Linked DNA regions of Homo sapiens: all the other regions are linked to region 1. The links are contacts of gene promoters, found by promoter capture Hi-C in blood cells and fetal thymus (Javierre and others, 2016). All regions are on one chromosome and are shown on one strand. Each heading gives the region's core, a stretch centred on a gene start or on the middle of the fragment in contact. The rest is flanking DNA. Distances are from core to core; before and after follow the strand shown.

Evidence for each region. The method cuts DNA at HindIII sites, captures the fragments that hold promoters and counts their contacts. A CHiCAGO score of 5 or more calls a contact.
Region 2: a contact is called between a fragment that was not itself captured here and the fragment with the promoter of SLC9B1 in region 1, in 17 of 17 cell types (non-activated CD4 T cells, naive CD4 T cells, erythroblasts and 14 more). The highest score is 24.0, in non-activated CD4 T cells.
Region 3: a contact is called between a fragment that was not itself captured here and the fragment with the promoter of SLC9B1 in region 1, in 7 of 17 cell types (total CD8 T cells, non-activated CD4 T cells, total CD4 T cells and 4 more). The highest score is 10.1, in total CD8 T cells.
Region 4: a contact is called between a fragment that was not itself captured here and the fragment with the promoter of SLC9B1 in region 1, in 14 of 17 cell types (activated CD4 T cells, total CD4 T cells, non-activated CD4 T cells and 11 more). The highest score is 13.9, in activated CD4 T cells.
Region 5: a fragment that was not itself captured here is called in contact with the fragment with the promoter of SLC9B1 in region 1 in 9 of 17 cell types (total CD4 T cells, activated CD4 T cells, naive CD4 T cells and 6 more); the score reaches 10.4 in total CD4 T cells.
Region 6: a contact is called between a fragment that was not itself captured here and the fragment with the promoter of SLC9B1 in region 1, in 13 of 17 cell types (activated CD4 T cells, total CD8 T cells, naive B cells and 10 more). The highest score is 10.3, in activated CD4 T cells.

The regions. Positions count from the first base shown.
Region 1 is chr4:103,018,011-103,021,748 of GRCh38, reverse strand. SLC9B1 (solute carrier family 9 member B1) reads left to right here and starts at 2,044. Exons shown (of 12, transcript NM_139173.4): 1 at 2,044-2,150. It also overlaps a transcript of SLC9B2 not described here. RefSeq lists an enhancer at 1,703-2,203. The HindIII fragment of the contact is 6,332 bases long and covers 1,409-3,738 here.
Region 2 is chr4:102,340,493-102,344,230 of GRCh38, reverse strand. The region is part of intron 2 of SLC39A8 (solute carrier family 39 member 8); the gene reads left to right. Among named protein-coding and RNA genes, the nearest start is that of SLC39A8, 3.1 kb to the left of the region's middle. RefSeq lists an enhancer at 167-226. The HindIII fragment of the contact is 2,782 bases long and covers 499-3,280 here.
Region 3 is chr4:102,385,070-102,388,807 of GRCh38, reverse strand. No RefSeq gene overlaps it. Among named protein-coding and RNA genes, the nearest start is that of SLC39A8, 41 kb to the right of the region's middle. The HindIII fragment of the contact is 4,429 bases long and covers 1-3,738 here.
Region 4 is chr4:102,411,847-102,415,584 of GRCh38, reverse strand. No RefSeq gene overlaps it. Among named protein-coding and RNA genes, the nearest start is that of SLC39A8, 68 kb to the right of the region's middle. The HindIII fragment of the contact is 4,802 bases long and covers 1-3,738 here.
Region 5 is chr4:102,471,743-102,475,480 of GRCh38, reverse strand. All of the region lies in intron 1 of NFKB1-AS1 (NFKB1 antisense RNA 1), which reads left to right. Among named protein-coding and RNA genes, the nearest start is that of NFKB1, 28 kb to the left of the region's middle. The HindIII fragment of the contact is 7,143 bases long and covers 1-3,738 here.
Region 6 is chr4:102,492,586-102,496,323 of GRCh38, reverse strand. All of the region lies in intron 1 of NFKB1-AS1 (NFKB1 antisense RNA 1), which reads left to right. Among named protein-coding and RNA genes, the nearest start is that of NFKB1, 6.9 kb to the left of the region's middle. The HindIII fragment of the contact is 691 bases long and covers 1,672-2,362 here.

The DNA of each region.
Region 1 (3,738 bases), core at 795-3,294:
TTGGCACTGAAATCATACTAAATAGATCATTGGCTAAATATTTTTATTGAAGTACTTTCAGAAGTATGAAACTATGTAGAAAGTGTTAAAACTTTTTTTATCATGTCATGTATAGTTTTAAAAAATTGCTCTCAGTTAAGATTCTCCTTATTCCTCAAAAGCTTTTGCTTTCCATGACTTTGTTGCAAATATAATCAATTTACTTATTTTTAAAACTTAATTTTTATAAGAAAGGTTATCAGATGATTGTTTAAATGTTTTTTATTAGTAAATTTTCATTATATTGTCTCCCAAAGAACCACTGTATTTTTTTAATGTCTCAGAACATTATATTTTTATATGAATCATTTATGTACCTCTCTGTAACAAGTGGGAATTGCTTCATGGCATTTGGGGAGTACGTAATATTATATTTATAGTTGACTGACTCAAATCCAGCCTGAGCCCTCTGGCCTGGTGAGAATTCCAAAACTCCATTTGTTGATGTGCGCTCCATCTTCCTTACATGGACCCTAAAGCACTTACCTCTCCAGGAGCCCATTCCTTCTAGAGCATAAGAGTAGTGCCTTGGAGGCAAACAGACTCCTAGCAAAGGTCTTCCTTCCCAGGTTTACCATTTGTCCCAACTCCCATTATCTTTAGGGATCTACCTGCTTTTCCTGTGAGTACAAAACATTTCCTTTTCATGAGTACAAAACATTTCCTTAACCCTATAATCATGAAACCCTGTCTACTCTCCTGAAACGAGGAAGAAAAATAAATCCTTGCTGAGATGTCTATAACACGTTGAAGGAGGGAAGGTGTTAAAAACAATAAAAAGGGCAGGGCTGTGGTGGCTCACGCTTGTAATCCCAGTACTGTGGGAAGCCAAGACGGGCAGATCACTTAAGTCCAGGAGTTCAAGTCCTCCTGGGCAATATGTGAAACTCCTCTCTACTAAAAATACAAAAATTAGCCGGGGGTAGTGGTGCCCACCTGTAGTCCCAGCTACTCAGGAGGCAGGAGGATCGCTTGAACCAAGGAGGAGGAGGCTGCAGGGAGCCTAGATCGCACTGCACTCCAGCCGGGGTAATAGAGTGAGACCCTGTCTCAACAACGTCAACAAAACCAATAAAAAGATAATTTCGTATTTAAGTTACCCAAGAAGGAACGGTAATTTGGATCAGATCTTAGATGATGACTAAGAAAAAGAACACTCCGGTAGAGGAATTAACTTTACAGAACGCACTGAGGCAAAAAGGAATACAGTGTTCAAGAGTAAACATTGAGTGTCAGGAGAAACATTAGATAGGAAAGGGCAGTTTGTCTTTCTAAGAAGTTTACACTTTCTCCAATAACAGTTGTTTTTGTCTTTTATAGGAAGCGCGGATTCTATTACTGGAAACTTTGGGACTGAAAGGCCAAAGCTTCTGGGCCCACCATCAACGCAGCTCCGCTTTCATTTCTTTCACATACAACTTTCCACATAAGATTTCATGCGGAAAAAAAAAAAAAACTCACAAAGGTTTTATACTGATAACAGTATATTAAGTGTTTACTTTGTACACAGCGTCTTTGTTCCAGACACTTGCCATGTCTCATTTATTCTCACACCACCACCACAGCGTCCTTTACAGATGAGAAGACAACCTCAGGGAGACGATGTATTTGCCTAGGTCCCATAGCTAGCAAGTGACAGCGCTGCAGTTTAAGCTCAGGCCGTCTTGGGGAGAGACCGTGCTCTTCTACCATTGCACTTTAAGCTGACTTTAGGGGAAACACAATCTGAGTTTTGACAAGTTTACTTCTGGCACATGCAGTCCCGAGCACTGCTTTTTGGCTAAAATGCCCAGTGATGTCAACTCTGTCCCTGGATTTCTACAACCCGATGAGTCAATATTCAGAAGAGACGTCGAAAGGAAAGGGTTCAATAGACAGAAAACACACCAGACAGTCCCAGAAACCCCAGAACCCTCGCCTCTGCCGGCGCGGACAGCCAAGACGTCACTTAAACGCGCTGCCGCCTCCTCGCCCCGCCCCGCCCCTGCGCGGAAGTCTATCCGGGCTTTCGCGTCACCACCCTGCCCACCTGGGTGGCGCGTGGCTTACGCAACGGTCACTGGGCTCCTGGGCCGCTCCCGGGCCAGCGAGGGCTGCGAAAGAAGTTGTAGGTACGGCCCATTTTTCTTAACGCCGCCCTTCCAAGCCCTTTGGCGCTAGTCCCGGGTCTGCCGCGATCGTTTCCTTGCGGTAGGCCGCAGGAGGGCCTTTCCTCCCCCTCAGTTCAATGGGATTCTTGGGCTCTTCTCCCAGACGCTGAGGGAACAGCCACAGACATTGTCTCTCCTCTCCGTGACTCCTTTCCTTACTCCGTCATCCCACATCTCTCTTGTTTGTTCTCTTTTCCTCCTGTTTTTCTTATTTTACAAATACTCGCCAGTAAGAAAGAAGAGATCTGTCAGTTAAGATTGACCTCAAAATTAATTTTATTAAGCGTGTACTATTTTACAAACGGTGGATCCCTGCAAATAAACCTTCACATACATGCTCCTGCGACTGGAGATTCTGGGATTGGTTGCCGATCCTGAGAAAGCTCTCTTCCCCCACCCACCCACATCCACGCCCCTTAATCCTGTTTACTCCTCTTGGCTTTAACCCAGGGGACAAGCACTTCCAGCAGTCCCCAACCTTTTTGGCACCAGGGATCAGTTTCATGGAAGACAGTTTGGGGTGGGGGGCAAGATGGGATGACACTCTTCTATCTCAGATCATCAGGCATTAGATTCTCTTGAGAAGGCGCAATTTAGATCCCTCACATGCGCAGTTCATAATCAGGTCTGTGCTCCTATGAGAATCTAATGCCTTTGCTCATCTGACAGGAGCTGGAGCTCAGGCATAATCCTCTAGCCCTGCTCACCTGCTGTGTGGCCTGTTCCTAATAGGCCACAAACCTGTACCTGTCTGCTGCCCAGGGGTTGGGGATCCCTGCTTTAGACCAGTGCTTTTGAAGGAAAAAGGAAAGTTGCACACATACTGTGTCTGTCACATCAATCAGTAGTGTTACAAGAGCTCTTCACGGGACCATACCAGGTCCCTCACTCCCCCTCTATGGGTGTCCTAGAGCCTGTGAAATAACAGATTTGGTGATGTGGGGAGACAACTGGCCCAGGTGGCACTGAGGGAGGCCACACCCCACTCTCTGATTTTCCTTAGAGATAAATATAATTATGTGTGCAACAGAAGCATGAAAAATGACACTTATTATTGTCACCCCTAGAGAATTCATGCCCCAAATATTTTAGTCACTGTGTGCCTATGAAAAGGGCATTCATAGGTATTGTCCCCTGTGAGTACCAGAATTTTTTTTAACTTACTTTTTAAAATTCTATACAGATTTAGTTAGTACAAGTTCAGTTTTGTTGTGTGGATATATTGCACAGTGGTGAAGTCTGGGCTTTTAGAGTACCAGAATTTATACTGCTGTTTTTCAGTTGGCTCTTGTCATAAGGTCCTGCCAATTACTAGACACAAGGAAATAGGTGGGTGCTATAGTTGTAACATATAAAGTATCGTTTTTATAGTACTTCTCATTTTGTACTTATTTTTGTACTCATCCTGTTTAAACACTTCTGTTGGTTAACCAAATCCCATGTTACTGTGGTGTTTACTAAACACTGAGATTGAATAGTACCTGGAACATAGTGTAATATATGTTCAATAAATATTTTTTGAGGGAATGAATGGATGAGCTTCTGAAGA
Region 2 (3,738 bases), core at 640-3,139, 680 kb after region 1:
GCAGTTTTACGCCTGATGAACTGAGAGGTCCGACTCTGGTGATTTTAACATTTTATAGAAAACTTTATGAAGTAGTTGAGGGTGTGACGCCACTTTAACAGATGCTTTTTAGATAGGAATGAGTTACTTAAATCTTGCCAGAAAGATAACGGCTCGCACACTTCCTACAAGGTTAGCAAGGAAGATTATCACATGCCACCCTGGTTAACAGTTGCCCGGTGCGTAACCAGTGCTATTTGAAAACGAGATATAATGTAGTTCTGGCTCCTGTGTACATTACATGAGGCATTCAGGGCTGAAACAGGGGCGGCCTTGAGACTAAGATTCTAATTTGGTCATCCAGATGGTGGTAGACTAGGCTTATATTGTTAGTTCCTTGTCATATGTCAGGTCAAATATTTGATTCTAGTATTTATCCAAAATGATTAAAAAAATTTTTTCAGTAATAAACAGGGTACTACTAGGCATTTGGCAATACCTTGGGTTTAAGAACAAGCTTCAAACTACGTAGGAGCAGTTAAACATCATACCTCTTTGTAAACATAAAATCAAATTATTCCTAATTATTTCTATAATAAATACTCTGTGATTGGGTAGTTCTTAAAATTGTTAAGTAGACAAAGTGTAGTTTCTGCATCCTTCCAAAACTGCTCTCCGTCTTTTAAAACTCAGTTAACTCAGTGCTTTGACTTGTTTTCCTTTACTCCTGTCCCACTGACAGCTGATATTGGAGGGTAGAATACGGTATTTTCCATATCGTTTGTCATTTTTGGACGATGTTAGTTTGTTACAAGAAGTTTTTGGGGTCCAAGATGTTTGGGAAATGCTGCATATTATACTCTGCTCTTGGAAATTTGGCGTTTCCTAATGAATATGACTTTAGATTACAGTTAGGGAAACTGTAATCAAATAAATTCCATGTTAATAACATTATACGTAGATTGATCTTTTTGTTAGAAATATCTTACCACAATTAAAGTATATGGCTCTTAAGAAAAGTAGAACTTTCTGATGCCATGGCATGTCAGAGGTGGTCTCTCTTTGATCTAGAAGGGTTTTGTGGTCCCCTTATGCATGTTCTTTAGTAAATTGTCTATAATTCCAGTTCTGGGCATGGTATTTTATCTGGGGTAATATCTGAGAAATGATGTGTTGGAAAAATGGAAATGCCCACAAATTATGCTAATATTTAAGAAAATAAAGTGTTTGCTGGCTAGTTGCATTCTTTTCTTATCAAATAGGGGAAACAACTGAGCTGACTCCAGTATTTCCAGGTAGGTATGGTCACGTGCTTGGAAAGAAGTTTAGAGGATTGACTTGAAGCTGCATATCTGTAGCCCACACATTGTTTTGACTTGCATGACCTCCTTATCTTGCAGTGTCTGGAGGTGTTGATGAATTTTAAAGGGGCAAAAGACCTCCCCACATCACCTTTGCAAAGACATTGGAAAACATGCCTAAATTATTTAGGAAAATTGGTTAAGTGTACCAGTAATACGATTCTCTGTTTATTAGCAGGCAGGATGTCTCAATAGGTAAAATTATATGTATCTTGACACCTGTTTTCTCATTCTCATGTTTGCATATTTAACTGCCCTCATTATGGCCTCTGTGGGCATCAAAAAGAGACAGGAAGAAGCCCATAATTACCTTGGAAAGAAAAGGAAGCCAAGGAAAATTTACCACTTAATAAGCCTAACAAACATCTCTTTGATGTTCTTGCTTTTTTTTTGAGACTGAGTTTTACTCTTGTTGCTCAGGCTGGAGTGCAATGGCACGATCTCAGTTCACCACAACCTCCCCCTCTGGGTTCAAGCAATTCTCCTGCCTCAGCCTTCCAGGTAGCTGGGATTACAGGCGTGTGCCACCACACCGGGCTAATTTGTATTTTTAGTAGAGATGAGGTTTCTCCCTGTTGGTCAGTCTGGTCTCAAACTCCCGACCTCAGGTGATCCGCCGGCCTCGGTCTCCCAAAGTGCTGGGATTACAGGCATGAGCCACGGTACCTTGCCTGATGTTCTAAAAAGTCCTAATGATGACAATAATCATTGGTTAAATGATGACAAATGAAATACCAATCTAAAAGAATCCATTGATTTGCTGGTAAGTGATGGACTTGAGCCCACAACATTCATGTATGCTCCAGTGTGAAACCACCCAATTCTGGAGTAAAATTTTAGGGTCATTAATGCTTACATACCCTGAGGAATACAACTTCAGTTTCCTCACAGGGTGGAATAAACAATGCACATGTCTATTGTGAGACACTGGTTTTTGGCTTTGAAAAAGGCTAAGAAGATAAAATTTGTTTCAAGGTCCAGGAATTTATTGAATCTTCTACAAGATTTAGTTTTCAAATAACATTGTTCTTTTGGTTGAGGGCTGTGATATTTATTAGGTCAGCTTTTCTCAGGTAATAGACTAATGAACTCTGGAGATTTGTTAGACAATTTTGGAAGGTTTTCTAAATATTTTTCTTCGTATCCTTAAGTAAGGACTACTAAATTAGCTTGTTGCTTTGGGATATCAAAGAGGTCAGAGTTCAAACTGTAGACAGTAGAACAATTGAGCCAATAGTTTTGCTTCTTATAGCTACTGACAGTGCGAAGAGTTAGGTAGAAGCAGTGACCAAAACAACAAAGAAGAGGGAGCCCTTTTAGCCAAATAGGTCTCTGGGGCCCTCATTTCTGGATAAAGGTCTGATCTATTGAGGGGAGTTCCTAGAATACACAGGGAAGCCCCAAATATCTGGATACCCCTGGGTTATTAATCTAGGACATTTAAGAATGGCCTCAGTGCTGCCTTTTGTTTGTTCAGCTGTTCCTTTCTCATTCTTCAAATGTTCCTTTTCCTCATTTCCTCTTTCAAACACTGTATTTTCAAGTTCTTATGTGTAGATAGTGGTTAAACAGCCTGATAAAAGGAAGATCCTATTTTCTAAATTATCACACTGAGCTGCTGGAAATGCCTCCATTCAGAATTTCTTCTTCTGATATATATTTTTTGATATATATCTTGCAGCCCATCTCCTGTAGTGCACATAGTTTTTTTCTTCTCACATTTCTACTGGTAACCAAGTTCTGTTTTTAACCTTTTTCAGTTCATATTCAGTCTTCTCAAAGCAACACTCTTTCAAAAAGCCTCCATGAACTGTCTCAGCTGGCAAACTCTAAATCTTGAGCCTAGCATTTAAGGCCTGATCCTCCTGTGTCAACCTACCTCTCCAGACCTAGCACCCACTAAACTAAACTACTCACTGCTCTATGGATTCCCATAAGCTTTTGCTCAACCACTTCTTAACTCATTATCTTCCTTGGACCTTTCCTGCCTTTGACTGAAATGTTCTTCTTTTCCTTGAATTGCCCTGTGAAAATCTACTCTCTTAAGCCCAGTTAAACTTCACCATAAAACCTTTCTGGGGTATCACAGCCAGCACTGATTTACTGATTTCTCTATTTTCTGAATTCCTGAAATATTTTTTACCATGCTGATGTCACTTCTATTCCTGTGTTCAGCAGACATTTTAAATGACTGCTGCACTCTAATTTGAATGGTTATTTAAAAATACAAATCTGATCATATCATTCATCCTGTTAAACAATTCAGTGACTTTTAGATAAACTACAAACACTTAGAGTGGCTTCAAAGTCCTTTTCTGATTTGGTCCCTGTATGTTTCTTAAACCGTATCCTTTGTCACAGTTCCAATCTTAATGGACCATTTACACTGCCTGGTTCT
Region 3 (3,738 bases), core at 840-3,339, 630 kb after region 1:
AATTTAGAATTACAGGATTTCAAGGTTGAAATGGTAAATTCAAAAAGTTCAATCATTATCTGATGTTTGAATTCCCCCATAGATATCTTTTCTAAGTATTTATGTAACTTGTGAGTCAATCTCTCTAGTGAGAAGAAACTATCATAAAGGTCACCCATTACACCTCAATTCAGAGTATTTATTGTTTTAATGACTTAAATTATTTTTCACATTAAAACTTCCTGCAGAGAGGGTTGAAGAAAGAAAAATGAGTATTATTATTATTAGTAGTAGTAGTACAGTTGGTTAAAAAGTTAAAATTAATTGCTCAGAAGTGATTTAAGGATAATAACTATTAGTTTAGAAAACGAAATAAGATGGAAAATAAAAAATAAGCACAATAGTATGTATTTTTAAAATTAATGGCCAATTTTTCAACTATTGGGTCACAGTGACCTTAGCATCATGTGTACAGTAGGAAAAATCAATCAAAACATTTTTATGGAGGACCTTTGCTCTAAGTGCAACAAGCTAGAAAAACTTAAGATATATTTTCTTTTAAGGAACTTAAAATCTCCTTGGAAAGGTAAGATAAGAATGTAGAAAGTAACAGAAAATATGAGTACACCAATAATGTGCACCAGTGAAAAGGTTAAAAATAATAAGATTTAAGGCTTTCTCAGAAGTATGGGGTGGTCAGTGAATGCATTCACTGGGGGATGAAGGACATGGGAAGGGGGCTGAGACTTGAAGGATTCAGGGACTGATAAGATGCCGTGAAGATGAGGCAAGGGAGCCATTTCAAGCTAAAGAGTGGGAGGAGGATGGTTTGAGCAGAGATCTGGTGCAGAAAAGAGAAGAATGCCTGGAGGCAAGTTGGGTAACTGCAGGAGATAAGGTTTGGCAAGGTAAAAATGGGCCAGATGGTTGAGGGCTAGGCACAGGAATTCAGATTTTTGTCTTGCACAGATTTCAGAGTTTGAATTAGGAAATAATTTGACTTAGAGACTGTAAACACCCAGAAAAATGTAAGAGACAGCAGTTATGTAGGCTTTGTGATTATTGTAGAACTTCAGAACGGAAATGAATAATCTGACCTATGTGGACAGTGATGGGGATGGAAAAGCAGGGATGCATGTTAGTGAAGTTGCACAAGAGGAATCAAAAGCATTTGGTAACATGATCTAGGGGTGAGGGGCAGGTAACTTTCAAACTTTTTGATGATGATCATAACAAGAAATGCATTTATATATTTTGCTTATAATTACATATACATATATATGTTGTACATTTATAAAAAACGGAAATGAAAATTCTAAAAAAAAGTTTACGCTTACTCTAATTGATGTACATTGATATTTGTTTCCTTCCATTCTATTAAAAAATAAACTGATATTAATCCATGAAAATGATTTTATGAACCATGAGTGAGTTGTTATTTGAACACAATGTTTGTAGGGGTATAATTTAAAGGATACCAGAAAATTGTCCTTCTCCAAGATTTCTTACTGATTTTGCATTTCCAGAATTGGAAATTGAAATTTTGGTCCTGTGTTAAAGCAAATCTCTTTGGAAAGGCATAAACTTTGCAACCTTTTACCTTACAGTGAGCAATTTATTATCTTTCCTGGAAATCATGTTACGTTAGAGCAGACAATAGGGAAAATATGGAAGCCTGAGATGTTTGTCTGAAAGGTTGCGAAAGGCAAGACGGTGTTGAGACAGAAATGTTGTCCTCTTTAAAATTTTATATAGAAGTTACTACAATAAGTACAAGACAAAATTAATATTCACTCATTCATTCTCACTTAATCACAAGATAAAATTAATATTCACTCATTCATTCTCACTTAATCTTAGCCAAAAAACTGAGAAGCAATAATATTCATTCTCTGAATGAGGAAGAAAGACTTGAAGGAAGGTGGAACAAGGATTGGCAAACAGGATAGTAAGCCATTGTTTCTCAGCCATGAGGAGAAGATGCTAACCAGTACATCTGGAAGGTGAAGAACAGGAGAAGGAGAGGTTTGGAATAACCAGGAATAGGAATAGAGGGAGAAGGTGGGAGTGTAACTGTCTCAGGAGAGCGTTATATGTCAATGTATCATGTCAATGAGCCATGATAAAAGTGACTCTAGTCCTCAGGTTTAGGCAAGTTGCTTAGTCTGGGTCCTCTATCTTTTGTTGTGAAGACTCGATTTCACTAGAGTAACTGTCCAAACAAACCAACACACAGAGAATTAGGAAAATGGGTTCCTAATTCATCTGTGGTATTGTCAGGAGAATAGGAGAGTCAGGCAGTTAGTGTTCTTCTAGTGGTTCCAAGGATTAGAGGAAAATCATATTGGAGAAAGGGCATAGGGCACATGCCTTAATTTATGTGTATGGAGAAGGATGCTCTCTGGATGGCTGTGATAATCCCAGGTATCTCACGTTTTCAGCTTCAATTTGGTGTGTGGTCTGCATCTCCATGATTTTGTCTGGGCTGAGGGGTCAGTCGTGAACACTTCAGGGTTATTTTGCACCAGGCCGCTTAGTCCTATCTAGAATATGGCAAATCACTCTTAGATCTAAGATATCAATTTAGCAGAAACAGCAGTCAGTGAGTGAAGTCAAATAATTTCAATGGTGCACAATGGATGTATTAAATTTTATCATAGCACTAACCTCTTCTATCAATTGTGTAAGATTACTTTTCTCTTGAAAGACCAGTACCCTTAGAAGAAAGATCAATCTTCTCTTATTAATGCCTCTCTTAAACAGAGGCATTAAACTTACATATTTGCAACTTCTGCTTAACATTTATAATTAAGAATTCCTCCTTAATTTGGAGTAAATTATATAGAACTAGAATAAAAGATGAGTTCCCTTTGCCAATTTATAGAGCAGGAGCTGGATAAAAGGATGCGGCCATGCTGTTTTCTTCTCAGAGCTACATCTGCTCCAGTGCCTGAGGAGATGCCCAAGGCACAGTTCAAAGTCTCTATTTCTAATCTCTAGTGAGAGTTTGATAGGAAGAATGTGGACTTATCCTTCCTTGTCCTGAAATTGAGAGGAAGAGAGGGATGTGTGTGACTCCCCTCCCCGTGTTCAGGGACTTTGCCATCAAAGCCTTGCATTATTCCAGGAGTCCCCACTTGCTTTAGTTCGATGGAAAGAGAATTTAGCTGGATGGAGGAATCAGGAATTCCCCCTGAATATTGTGTGCCAAGGAAATCTTTTTTGTTTCCAGTAATCATAAAATAACCCATAACACCCAGATGGGTCTGATTCCTGGACCTCAACACAAATGTCCCCTCATTCTCTACTCTCTTTCAGATATAAAGGTAAATGCTATCTAAGCCACAGTAACCTTGAGATACTGTGGGCCTGGGGCAGAGAAGAGCATCTGTAGAAGAGGCAGTGGACCACAGTACTGGATCTGGAAGTTCTGAGCCTTTACTTGTTGAGGAGCAGTGAGTACCTATTTGGGATTTCTGGTGAGTAACATCACCTGCCTCCTCTGACAGAACTCCATTATCATGTCATTGATTTCTCAGTGAACCATACTCTAAAGGTATTACTAGGAGAATCTGGTCTGTGAACATATGCTCATAGTTCTGTGTCATAGGAACAGGTATAAGAATTTCAAGGAAATAAGCATATCAAATGGTCACTGTGGAAGACTAATTCGCTGTCTACATTGAGTTAGCATTTGCACATTTCACATGACTCCACACCCATGATAAATGATGAAGAACAACAATAGGAAGCATGCAA
Region 4 (3,738 bases), core at 593-3,092, 610 kb after region 1:
AAGGAGCTTTCCCCTTCATTTGACACTCATTCTGTCTCCTACCACCCTGTGAAGAGGTGCCTTCTGCCATGATTGTAAGTTTCCTGAGGCCTCCCCAGCCATGTGGAACTGTGAGTCAATTAAACCTCTTTTCTTTATAAATTACCCAGTCTTGGGTATTTCTTCATAGCAGCAAGAGAATAGACTAATACAATGGGTGAAGTCTTTACTCCCCCAGTGGCCAGGTTTATTTTTTTATTTTATTTTTATTTTATTATTATTTTTTTACTGGATAAGATTTTTTCTTTTATTTTTTCTTTTTAAAATTTATTTATTGTATTTTAAGTTCTATGGTACATGTGCACAACGTGCAGGTTTGTTAACATATGTATACATGAACCATGTTGGTGTGCTGCACCCATTAACTCGTCATTTACATTAGTTATATCTCCTAATGCTATCCCTCCCCCTCCCCCCACCCCATGACAGGCCCCAGTGTGTGATGTTCCCCTTCCTGTGTCCAAGTGTTCTCATGGTTCAATTCCCACCTGTGAGTGAGAACGTGCGGTGTTTGTTTTTTTGTCCTTGTGATAGTTTGCTAAAAATGATGGTTTCCAGCTTCACCCATGTCCCTACAAAGGACGTGAACTCATCCTTTTTTATGGCTGCATAGTGTGTATGTGTCACATTTTCTTAATCCAGTCTATCATTGATGGACATTTGGGTCGGTTCCAAGTCTTTGCTATTGTGAATAGTGCCACAATAAACATATGCGTGCATGTGTCTTTATAGCAGCATGATTTATAATCCTTTGGGTATATATCCAGTAATGGGATGGCTGGGTCATATGGTATTTCTAGTTCTAGATCCTTGAGGAATCGCCACACTGTCTTCTCCAGTGGCCAGGTTTAATACTGGTGGAATATGAATAGAACATAGATATTTTTCTGAAGTCTTGTTCATCAGCACTTGCTTCTCTAACTTTGGAGCTATGTGGTCCTGAATATGTCTGGACACAGAACAGACTTCTTGTTCTTTCCTTCCTTCTCACCTTACTTTTCATCAGTGTTTTATGGAAAAAGTATAAGATTTGGAGTTAGACTGATCAACGTTTCAATCTTCATTCTGCAACTATCACCTTACTGGACCTTGGGCACCTTATTTTATCTCTATGAGTCTCAGTGCTTCATCTGTAAAAAGATAATTGCAGCATCTGCTCTGCAGGTGATTATAAGGACTAGCAATGTTGACTGCCTGGTGAGTTGTAGTTGTTTAATGAGTGGAAATATTATTGTTATAATTACTAATATTAATATCATCATCATTCTTCCAGTGTGAAGGGTAAGACAAGACAATCTGCATATTGACATGGAGGTAGATCTATCCCATGATACTTCAGATACAGTTGCTTTGCTGATTTGGGCAACTCTATCTGCATGGGTATAAAGTGAAGGAGCTATGCAAGCAAAAGAGGAGGGGGCAGGGAGGGAGAGAGAGACAGAGAGAGTGGAAGGGAGGAGAGGGAGAGGAGGAAGTATTAACTGTGAAGACAAGTGACATTTGTGTGATCTTTTGTTGTTTTTATTACTGCATCCATCTCCAAATTGGAGTCTATCTCTAAAACCTATGGATCTTTTATATTAATTTCCCAGAAAGTAAAATGAGGCTCCTATAATGTCTTTCAAGTGGTTTTCTTTCCTGTGAGGAGACAGATGCCAGAGCTTACACACAGGCTTTCTGGAGCTAGAGGAGGAAGCAGGAGGCATGTCTGGTGAAGCACATGGGCAAGGTATGTACACCAAAAAAGTGTGTGTGTGTGTGTGTGTGTGTGTGTATTGGGGTGAGGGTTGGTTATTGTGACCTGGCCCAGAGTATAGGACAAGCCCTGACCCTGAGTCTCTTTGGGTCAGCTCTTGTAATAGAGGGCAAAAGAGCCACTTTCTCTCAAGATAGGTAGACTCAGATATCGATTAACTGAGGGAAGCCCTTTGACAAAAGCTGTGGTTGAGGCAGGTTATTTTCTTACAAAATTATTCATTTTAGCTTCTTTTTATGTCCTAATCTACTTTTCTTATTTTGTCCTATTCTCTCATGCTTAGGTAAAACACTATTTTCATTTTTTTCTACTAATCATGGATAATTCACTTTTTCAAATTATTTAGTTGTAAAAGTGTCACAAACTTTTAATTTGGCTTGGCTAGGGGGCAAATGACCACTTTGTGGGGCTAGTGTATAGTCAGGACATTGCTAAATTTTGGTAGAGTGAATTTGCCTCTAATTCAAAATAGAATATTTTCTGGAGTGCTCTTGGGAGCCAACATCATTGCTGAGAAATAATCTTGCTAGCACTTTAGATTTTACAATGTAAATAATTATATTTATTTATTCCAGGTAAATATCTGACTTAAGCTACCTCAAGAGCATCTCATATTGTCATCGATTAGGAGAGTGTGTTTTTCTCTTTTTGCTGTTTCCTGTTGAAGGCCAAAGCTACACTTTTTACAGGAAGATGAGAATGGCCATAAAGTCTTCCATAATCTAATTCTGGTCTCAGTCCTCCTCACTCTTTCACTTCGGCTCCAGAAATAATGAACCACTTATAACCCCTTCTTCTCCCTGATGTTGTTTTATGTTTCCCTGTCTTTGGTTGTCTCTATCTGCAGTCTCCTCCAGAAACCTCTTCCTGCCTTTCCTATGCCCTGTGTATATATAGCAAAATTGGACTCATTCATTTTTAAAAGTCAGCTTTATTAAGGCATAATACAATGCAATATATATGATAAATTTTACCAATTTTTAAGAGTATGTACAATTCAATGGCTTTTGACAGACTTATATAGTCATATAAGCACTACAATTGTAATCTAGAACATTACTCTGCAAAAATGTTCCTATGTCACCTTGCAGTCTATCCCCTCCTCCTGCCCCCGGCCCCAACATCTGCTGATTTGTTTTCTGTCACTATAGTTGTGTCTTTAAAATAATTTCATATAAATTGAATTATTCATTATGTAGTCTTCTACATCCAGCATACTGCACTTAGCATAATGTTTCTGTATTTTGTTTTTGAGACAGAGTCTCAATCTGTTGCCCAGGCTGGAGTGCAGTGGCCTGATCTTGGCTCATGGCAACCTCTGCCTCCCAGGCTCAAGTGATCCTTTCACCTCAGCCTCCTGAATAGCTGGGACTACAGGCATGCACCACTAACTTGGCTAATTTTTTGTAGAGAAATGTTCTCACTATAGTGCCCTGTCTGGTGTCTAACTCCTGGACTTAAGCAATCCTCCCTCCTCAGCCTCCCAATGTGCTGGGATTACAGGCATGAGCCACTGTGTCCAGCGAGCATAATGTTTTTGAGATTCATCCATGATGTTGCCTGTATCAGTAGTTCATTCTTACTGTTGTCAGGTATGCTACTGTGTGGATGTACCACAATTTGCTCATCCATTCAATAGTTATTGGGCATATGGTGTTCACACTTCCAACTTTCTCTAGTTCCTTTCCTGATATCTACCTCTGCCACAAAAAGCTACATAGGCTTAATCTTTTCCTTTGTATCTGTAGAAATGATTCTCACTGTTAATAATTATTTGTCTATGAATGTGTTTCCATTAATAGACTGAAATCCTTGAGAGTAGAAACTGGGTTTATTCATCCACTTTCCCCAATGCCTACTGCATAGTTAGGGCTCAATAAAGTTGGCTGACTAGAACAAATATACCCTTTAAAGCTGACCTCCAGTTTAGCCTAAAACAAGAT
Region 5 (3,738 bases), core at 629-3,128, 550 kb after region 1:
CCAAGGGAATTATGGCTGCCTCTCCTGCATCATACATCACACAGGTCACCAGGGAAGTAGAGGAAAGCCAGCAGTGACAGGTCTCACCCAGCTCCCATGCAGCCAGCAAGGCCCGTCTCACTCCCGCCATGCCCCACCAGCACTGATTTTATATCCAGGCAGCCAGTGAGTAAGACTGAGATCTTGCCCCAGGCTACAAGCCTCCTTGCTGAGAAAGCAAGCAGGGATTTCAGGCTCCAACCCTCCTCACCTGCCATGACTTCTGTGCTCCTGTCTGCACTTCCTGTCTGCCCAGGACAATTTACGCTTGGCTGAAATTATTATGAAGGTCAGCTGGAAGTTTCCTTCTCCTTGTGGTCTTTCCCCAATTCCACTGGGAGCCCTCCCAAAAGACCCCTGTGAGATAAAGTCAGAAATGGCTTCCCTGGGCTTCCCTGGAAGCAGGGAGTTCCTACAGGGCTCTCCCTGCTGCTTTGTTTACGTTTCTATTTCTCTTGGCTCTCTAGTTTCAGCTCTAGGTAAGGTTAAATCCTACTCCCATGATCTGGATTTTCAGGTTTCCCAGTGAGGATGTGTATTTGGAAGCGGACTTTCCTTCTCTCACACTTTGGATACTCACAGTTTTTTGGCTGTCTCACAGAGTTTGTAGCAGCAAGCCTCTTCTTTCAAAGGATCTGTGAATTCTTTTAGTATTCCTGGTATCTTCCTGCAGTAGCTCTTGGAGTAAAAGTTCACAATATGAGTCTCCACATGCTGTTCTGTCCATCTGGGTAAGAGCTGCAAGTTAGTTCTGACTCCTATCTGCCATTTTTTCTCTCTTCCATTTTTTTATGTCTGTGTGTTTGTGTATAGATATTGCATTATTTTTTCTTTCTACAAATGCTTAGTAAACTTCTCTAGTGAAGCTCTCTTTACCTGGATTTTTTGGTTGTTGTTAAAAGATTTTAAAGTATAATTTCAGTTTAATAGATATTCCACTCTTCATACTCTCTATTTTTCTTGAGTGATTATTGGTAGTTAATGTCTTTAAAAAAATTTGCCAATTCCTCTAAGTTATTGAATTTGTAGTCATAAAAGTGTTCATAATATTTCCTTCTTACCCTTTTTTAAAAAAATTATGTTTCATTTTGACGCAACTGTAGATTCACATACAACTGTGAGGAAGAATACACAGAGATCTTGTGTAGCTTTCACCTAGTTTCCCTCAATGTAATATTTTGCAAAACTATAGTACAATATTATAGCCAGGATGTTGACACTGATACATTCAAGATACAGAACATTTCCATCACTACAGGCTCTCTCCTGATGCTCTTTCACAGCTACACCCACTTCTCTTCCTCTTCCATCCCTCTTTAACCCTTAGCAGTCACTAATCTGTTCTTCACTTCTATAATTTTGTTACATCAGATATGTGAATATAATTATACAATGTATGATCTTTCAGAATTGTTTCTTTTTCACTTAGTACAAATCCCTGGAGATTCATCCAGGTGGTTGTGTGTATCAACAGTTCATTCTTTGTTATTGCTGGGTAGTATTTTATGGTACAGCTGTTCCAGTTTGTATACCCATTTACACATTGAAGAACATCTGAGCTGTTTCTACTTTTTTTGTTTTTTTAGAGACCAGATGTCTCTCTGTTGCCTAGGTTGAAGTATACAGGTTGCCATGATTGTAGTTTACTACAGCTTTGAACTTCTAGGCTCAAGCAATCCTCTCACCTCAGTCTCCCAAGTAGCTGGTCCTACAGACACCACCACACCCTGCTAATTAAAAAAACTATTTAGAGACACGGTCTTGCTATGTTGCCAAGACAAATCTCTCCCAGCCTCAGGCAATCCTCCTGCCTCAGCCTCTCCAGTGGTTGAGATTACAGGTGTGAGCCACCATGTCTGATGTTTCTACTTTTTGGCTATTGCAAATAAATCTTCTATAAACATTCTTTTACAGGTGTTTGTGTGAACATAAAGTTTCATTTATATGGAATAAATACCCAGGAGTGTAATTGGTAGATCATAGGGTAGTTGCATGTTTAGTTTTTAAAGAAACTGCTAAACTACTAAACTGCTTTCCAGAGTGGCTGTACCATTTTACATCCCAAGCAGTGACACCTGAGTGATCCAGTTTCTTCACACCCTCACTAGTATTTGGTGTTGTCACTATTTTTTATTTTAGCTGTTCTCATAGGTATGCAGTGGTATTTCATTGTGATTTTAGTTCACACAGCCTTAAGGGCTGATGAAGTTGCACATATTTTCATGTGCTTACTTACCATCTATTTATCCTCTTCAGTGAAGTTTCCATTTATGACTTTCATTCATTTCTAATTGGATTGAGTGTTTACACTGAGTTTTGAGAGTTCTTTTTGTATTCCAGATACTAGTCCTTTGGTGGCCATGTGATTTGTAAATATATTCTCTCAGCCTGTAGCTTGACTTTTCATCCTCTTAACTCAGTCTTTTCTAGAGCCAAAGATTTATATTTTGATGAAGTCCAATGTATCATTTTTTTCCATTCATAGATCATATTTTTGGTGTCAAGTCTAGGGACTTTTTGCCTAACCCTAGATCCCAAAGATTTTCCCCTGTGTGTGTTTTTTTTAAGTTTTATAGTTTACATTTTACATGCAAGTGCATGATCCACTTTGAGTTAATTTTTAACTTTGGTCAAGGTTCATTTTTTTTTTTTTTTTTGGCCTATGGATATCTAATTGTTCTGGAACAATTTATTGAAAAGGCTATCTTAAGGACAGGCACAGTGGCTGATGCCTGTAATCTCAACACTTTCGGATACCAAGGTGGGAGGATAGCTTGAACCCAGGAGTTTGAGACCAGCCTGGGCAACATAGTGAGACCCTGTCTCTCAACAAATTAAAAAATAGCCAGGCATGTTGGTGTGTGCCTGTATTCCTAGCTACTAAGGAGGCTGAGGTGGGAGAATTGCTTGGGCCTGGGGGGTTAAGGCTGCAGTAAGCCATGATCCTGCCATTGTACTCCAGCCTGGCTGAAAGAGTGAGACTTTGTGTCCAAAAATAAAAAAAGACTATCTTTTCTCTATTGAATTGCTTGTGCACGTTTGTCTAAAGTCAAGTGGGCATATTTCTGTGAATTTATGAATTTATTTCTGGTTTCTCTATTTTGTTCCCTTTATCTATATATCTGTCTTACTTACAATAACTCACAATCTTGATTACTATAGCTATAAAATGTCGGAATTAGGTAGACTGTTTCTTCCCGTTTTTAAAATTCTTTTTCAAAGTTTTTTTTAGCTATTTTAATTATTTTGCCTTTCCATATATAATTTTTGGAATAATTTGTCCTTTTTTATCTAGTTCCTCTATATTTTTGTTATATTTTAGAATTTTTTCTGTACCTATTAAAAGTCTTGCTGGGATTTTGATAGGAAATATATTAAACCTGTATATCAATTTGGGGAGAACTGACATATTTACTATGTTGAGTCTTCCAATCCTCATTGGCTGCTCATTTATTTAGATCTTCTGGAGTTTTTTCTTTAGCATTTTATAGTTTTCAGCATGTAAATCCTATACATGTTTTGTTAGATTTACACCTGTTTCTTTTTTTTTGAGTGATTGTAAATATCATATTTTTAATTTCAGTGTTCATTGCTAATATATGGAAATAAAATTAATTTTTAAACAGACAATTTTTTTTTCACAGCAGATTTAGGTTCACAGCAAAATTGAGAGGAAGGTAAAGAGATTTCTCATATACC
Region 6 (3,738 bases), core at 768-3,267, 530 kb after region 1:
AAATCCAGTTACATTCTGAGGTACTGGGGGTTAGGACTTCAACATAGGAATTTCAGGGTGGGTGACATTATTCAGCCCATAACAGAGAGATATCTTTTAATGATTTCTATGAAGGCATGGAAATAGAGACTTAACTCATCCCGGTTGATCCAGGACTATCTTGCTTTTAGCACAGAGAGTCCCTTGCGCAGGAAACCCTCAGGCTCTAGTAAACCAGGGTGATTGGTCATGCTATATGAAGCCGACAAAACTGTTCTGAGTGAAATAAGGCTAGTTACTGGACATCATTGAGACAGCTGCCAATTACTTGTTTTTATGGAGGAGGTTTGCTTCTGTTTTCTGAAAGGTTGTATATCTGGCTGTCAAATCTATTCATAAGTGATGGTCTGACACTTATACATGCCTCTTTAATAAGATAAATATGGTTTTGCATATATATAACTCCTGATAAGCTTTTACAGAAATCTGAAAGAAATGTGAAATTATGTCATTTATTAATATATTGTTAATAAATACAAGTTATTAATATTAATATACTATATTTATTATATTAATAATGTTATATGATATTTACTTTATAACTATTGCAATATAAAATTAATATTTATATAATACCAATTATATAATTATTAATAATAATATAAAATAATAATTGTACACATCAATATATAATTATTGATTTATATATAAAGCTATATATAATTTATAAGTTATATAATTCTATATTATATAGAAGTCAATATATAATTTATTATATATTATAACTATTGTATATTATATATCATATACATTTATATATAATATATTGTTTATGTATAAATTATATGTTTAATAATATAATGATTATATTAACAATAACATTAATATATAATATTAATATTAATGTTTTTGTATATTAATATAATAAGCTTGGATTTTGGAAGCATGTTATATGGCTCCCTGGGTCTCAAGATTTGATGTTTCAACAGTTACATTCCTAGTCCATTATCTTTTGTAACATTTCCTCTCTTTCATTTTCCCTAGACTTGTTTTCTGGAATTTAAATTAGGTATATGTTAGATCTTCTCAATCTAATCTCTGTGTCTTTTAATATCTCTTATCTCTTTGGATTTCATTCTGGATAATTTCTTTATATTTGCCTTCTAGTTTATCAATTCTCTTTTCAGCTATATTTCATATGCTGTTTAATATGTCAACTGAATTATAAATAATAAATTGCTTACGTTTCTTGAAACAATCTCTGGAAATTATTTGAAGCTTAGGTTAAAATTGAGTAAGGAATATTTGTGCTTCTTTTTGCCTGTTATCTGGTATACTATTAACTTGGAAAAACCTTAAATAAAATTTTTTACTTGTGTGCTTTTGATCATCACATATAGTGTAAGTGGTTATGAATTCACAGGTGAGAATTTCTTCTTTTTCTGTCCAGTGACAAGGACTAGATAGGCAGTGTTATCGTTTGAACATGTCCCCCAAAGTTCCTGTGTTGGGACTTAACTCCCCATTCAACAGTGTTGAGAGGTGAGACCTTTGAGAGCTGATTGGGTCATGAGGTCTCTACCCCCATAAATGGATGAATGCCATTATTGTAGGAGTAGGTTACTTTCTCTCTTGAGTGTCTGCTCTTTTGCTCTTCTGCCTTTCACTATGGGATGATGTAGCAAGAAAGCTTTCACAAGATGCTGGCACCTTGATATTGGACTTCCCAGCCTCCAGAACTGTGAGATACAAATTTCTTTTCATTATAAATTACCCAGTCTGTGGTTTTCTGTGATAGCAACACAAAACAGACTAAGTCAATTTCTCAGCTATTCCCTCCAGTTTTTCAGTTTTGGAAATATTTAGATTCCTGAATTTCATGCCGGCTAAGCAGTATTAATTTTTAAAAATATGTTATGTAGCATTTCAGTTATTTCCATTAGTTATTTCATTTTAGTTATTTCAACCAGGAAGGGTATACTGTCAGAAACACATGGAGTCATTACCTATTTTTAAAATATGTATATTTTATCATTCTAGCATCTATCATATATTTAACTCCTAATCTTTAATTATATCTTCTTGAGTGAATTTATTACTTTTTAGAAAAGTTTTCACCTGGCTCTTCTAACAGTTCTATTTCAACAAAACACCTGTTTGAAGTGTTTATCTTAGTTTTCCTCTCTGGCTTGCTAGTACTACTAGGGCAAGTTATTATTTTCCATTTCCTGTTCAGACCTCAGGCTCTGTATACACTGACCTATAATTACAGGACAAGTAGTTAGGGTCTTTTATGCAGTGGCAAACCTGCCAGGGGAAAGGTTTCTGCTTTTGTGGGCTGGCAGTAAACCAACTGGCAATCTGTCCACACCCAGCTGAAGCTTTAAAAAAAGTCTTTCTTCTCCCAGAGCTCCCTGGGTGCAAGGGAGAATGCTTGCCTAACCTCAGGGGCTACAAGCAACTCTTCCATGAGTGCAGCGTTCCTCCATATGACCTGTCACTACCCAGATTAGTCTGACCTTCCCAAGAACACACACAAATAAGCCCATGTAATGCTTTCCTGAAGGCATTCATAGGTTTCCTCAGGCTAACTTTCACTGGAAGCCATAAAATTGAGACCTTTGTTTTAAGTCTTTCTATAACAAGGCCCTCCAGACTACCTAAAACAGAGAAGAGTGAGAGTATCTCTTTCCTTTTAGAGACCCTGGAGCCTGTGACCTCAAGTGACCCTGCTTTAGATGCCCCTGCTTACCTGCAGTAGCATTTTTTCTTGTTGGGGAAAGTAATTGAGAAGAGATTGGGAGGGTAAATTTGGGGACCTGTGTTCCATTACTATCTTCTTACAATGCTGTGAGTCACATGTCTACTTTTAGTGACAAGGAGGGTCTATCTCATCTGGAAGACATGAATTAGTAATGCTAGATTATGGTTAGCTAAGCGTAAATTGGGGCACTGTTATCAAAAAAAGGAAGAAGGGAAGACAAAGAGTATAAACAACAGATATCACCTCTATGTAGCACCTGTAAGGCTTATGCATAGTAGGTATACATAGATATACTTATCTGTTTTACTGATAGACATATCAGTAGATATACAGATCAGTTTTTTACTGCATTTTCTTTGAAATAAGTAATATAATTAAATGCCAGGAAGAGAGTTTTTTTCCAATGGCGTATTATAAATTATCAATATAATGCTGAGCATATACTTATCTTGGTTAGGATGCTTTTCACCTAAGGTGAAAAGATGTAAAATTATGACTCAAAATGACTTAACCATTATGGAATTTCATCAGGTCACATCGTTGAAAATCTTTAGGTTTAATGTAATCACAATTCTGGCTCTCTTCCCTTCAGAGACATTTTCTTTTCTTCTGTCCCTGTGTTAACAGTTTCCTCATGCTGGCTTTTCTCTTGGTCAAAAGATGGCTTCCAGATATACTAGGGACATACTTTCTTGTTGTAAGAGATGGGGTTGGGGGATTGGAGAGAGAGAGAGAGAGAGAGTTGTTTTTGATATATATATATACCCATGAGACCATCACCATAATAAAGACAGTGACCATGTGCATCAGCTGAAAAGTTTTCTCATGGCCCTCTGCAGTTCCTCATTTCCATTCCTCACTCCTCCACATTCCTAAGCAACCACTGATTTGCTTTCTGTCATAGATTAGTTTGCATTTTCTAGAGTTTCATATAAATGGAATCATACAGTAGGTACTATTTTTTATCTGACTTCTTTCATTGAGCATGATTATCT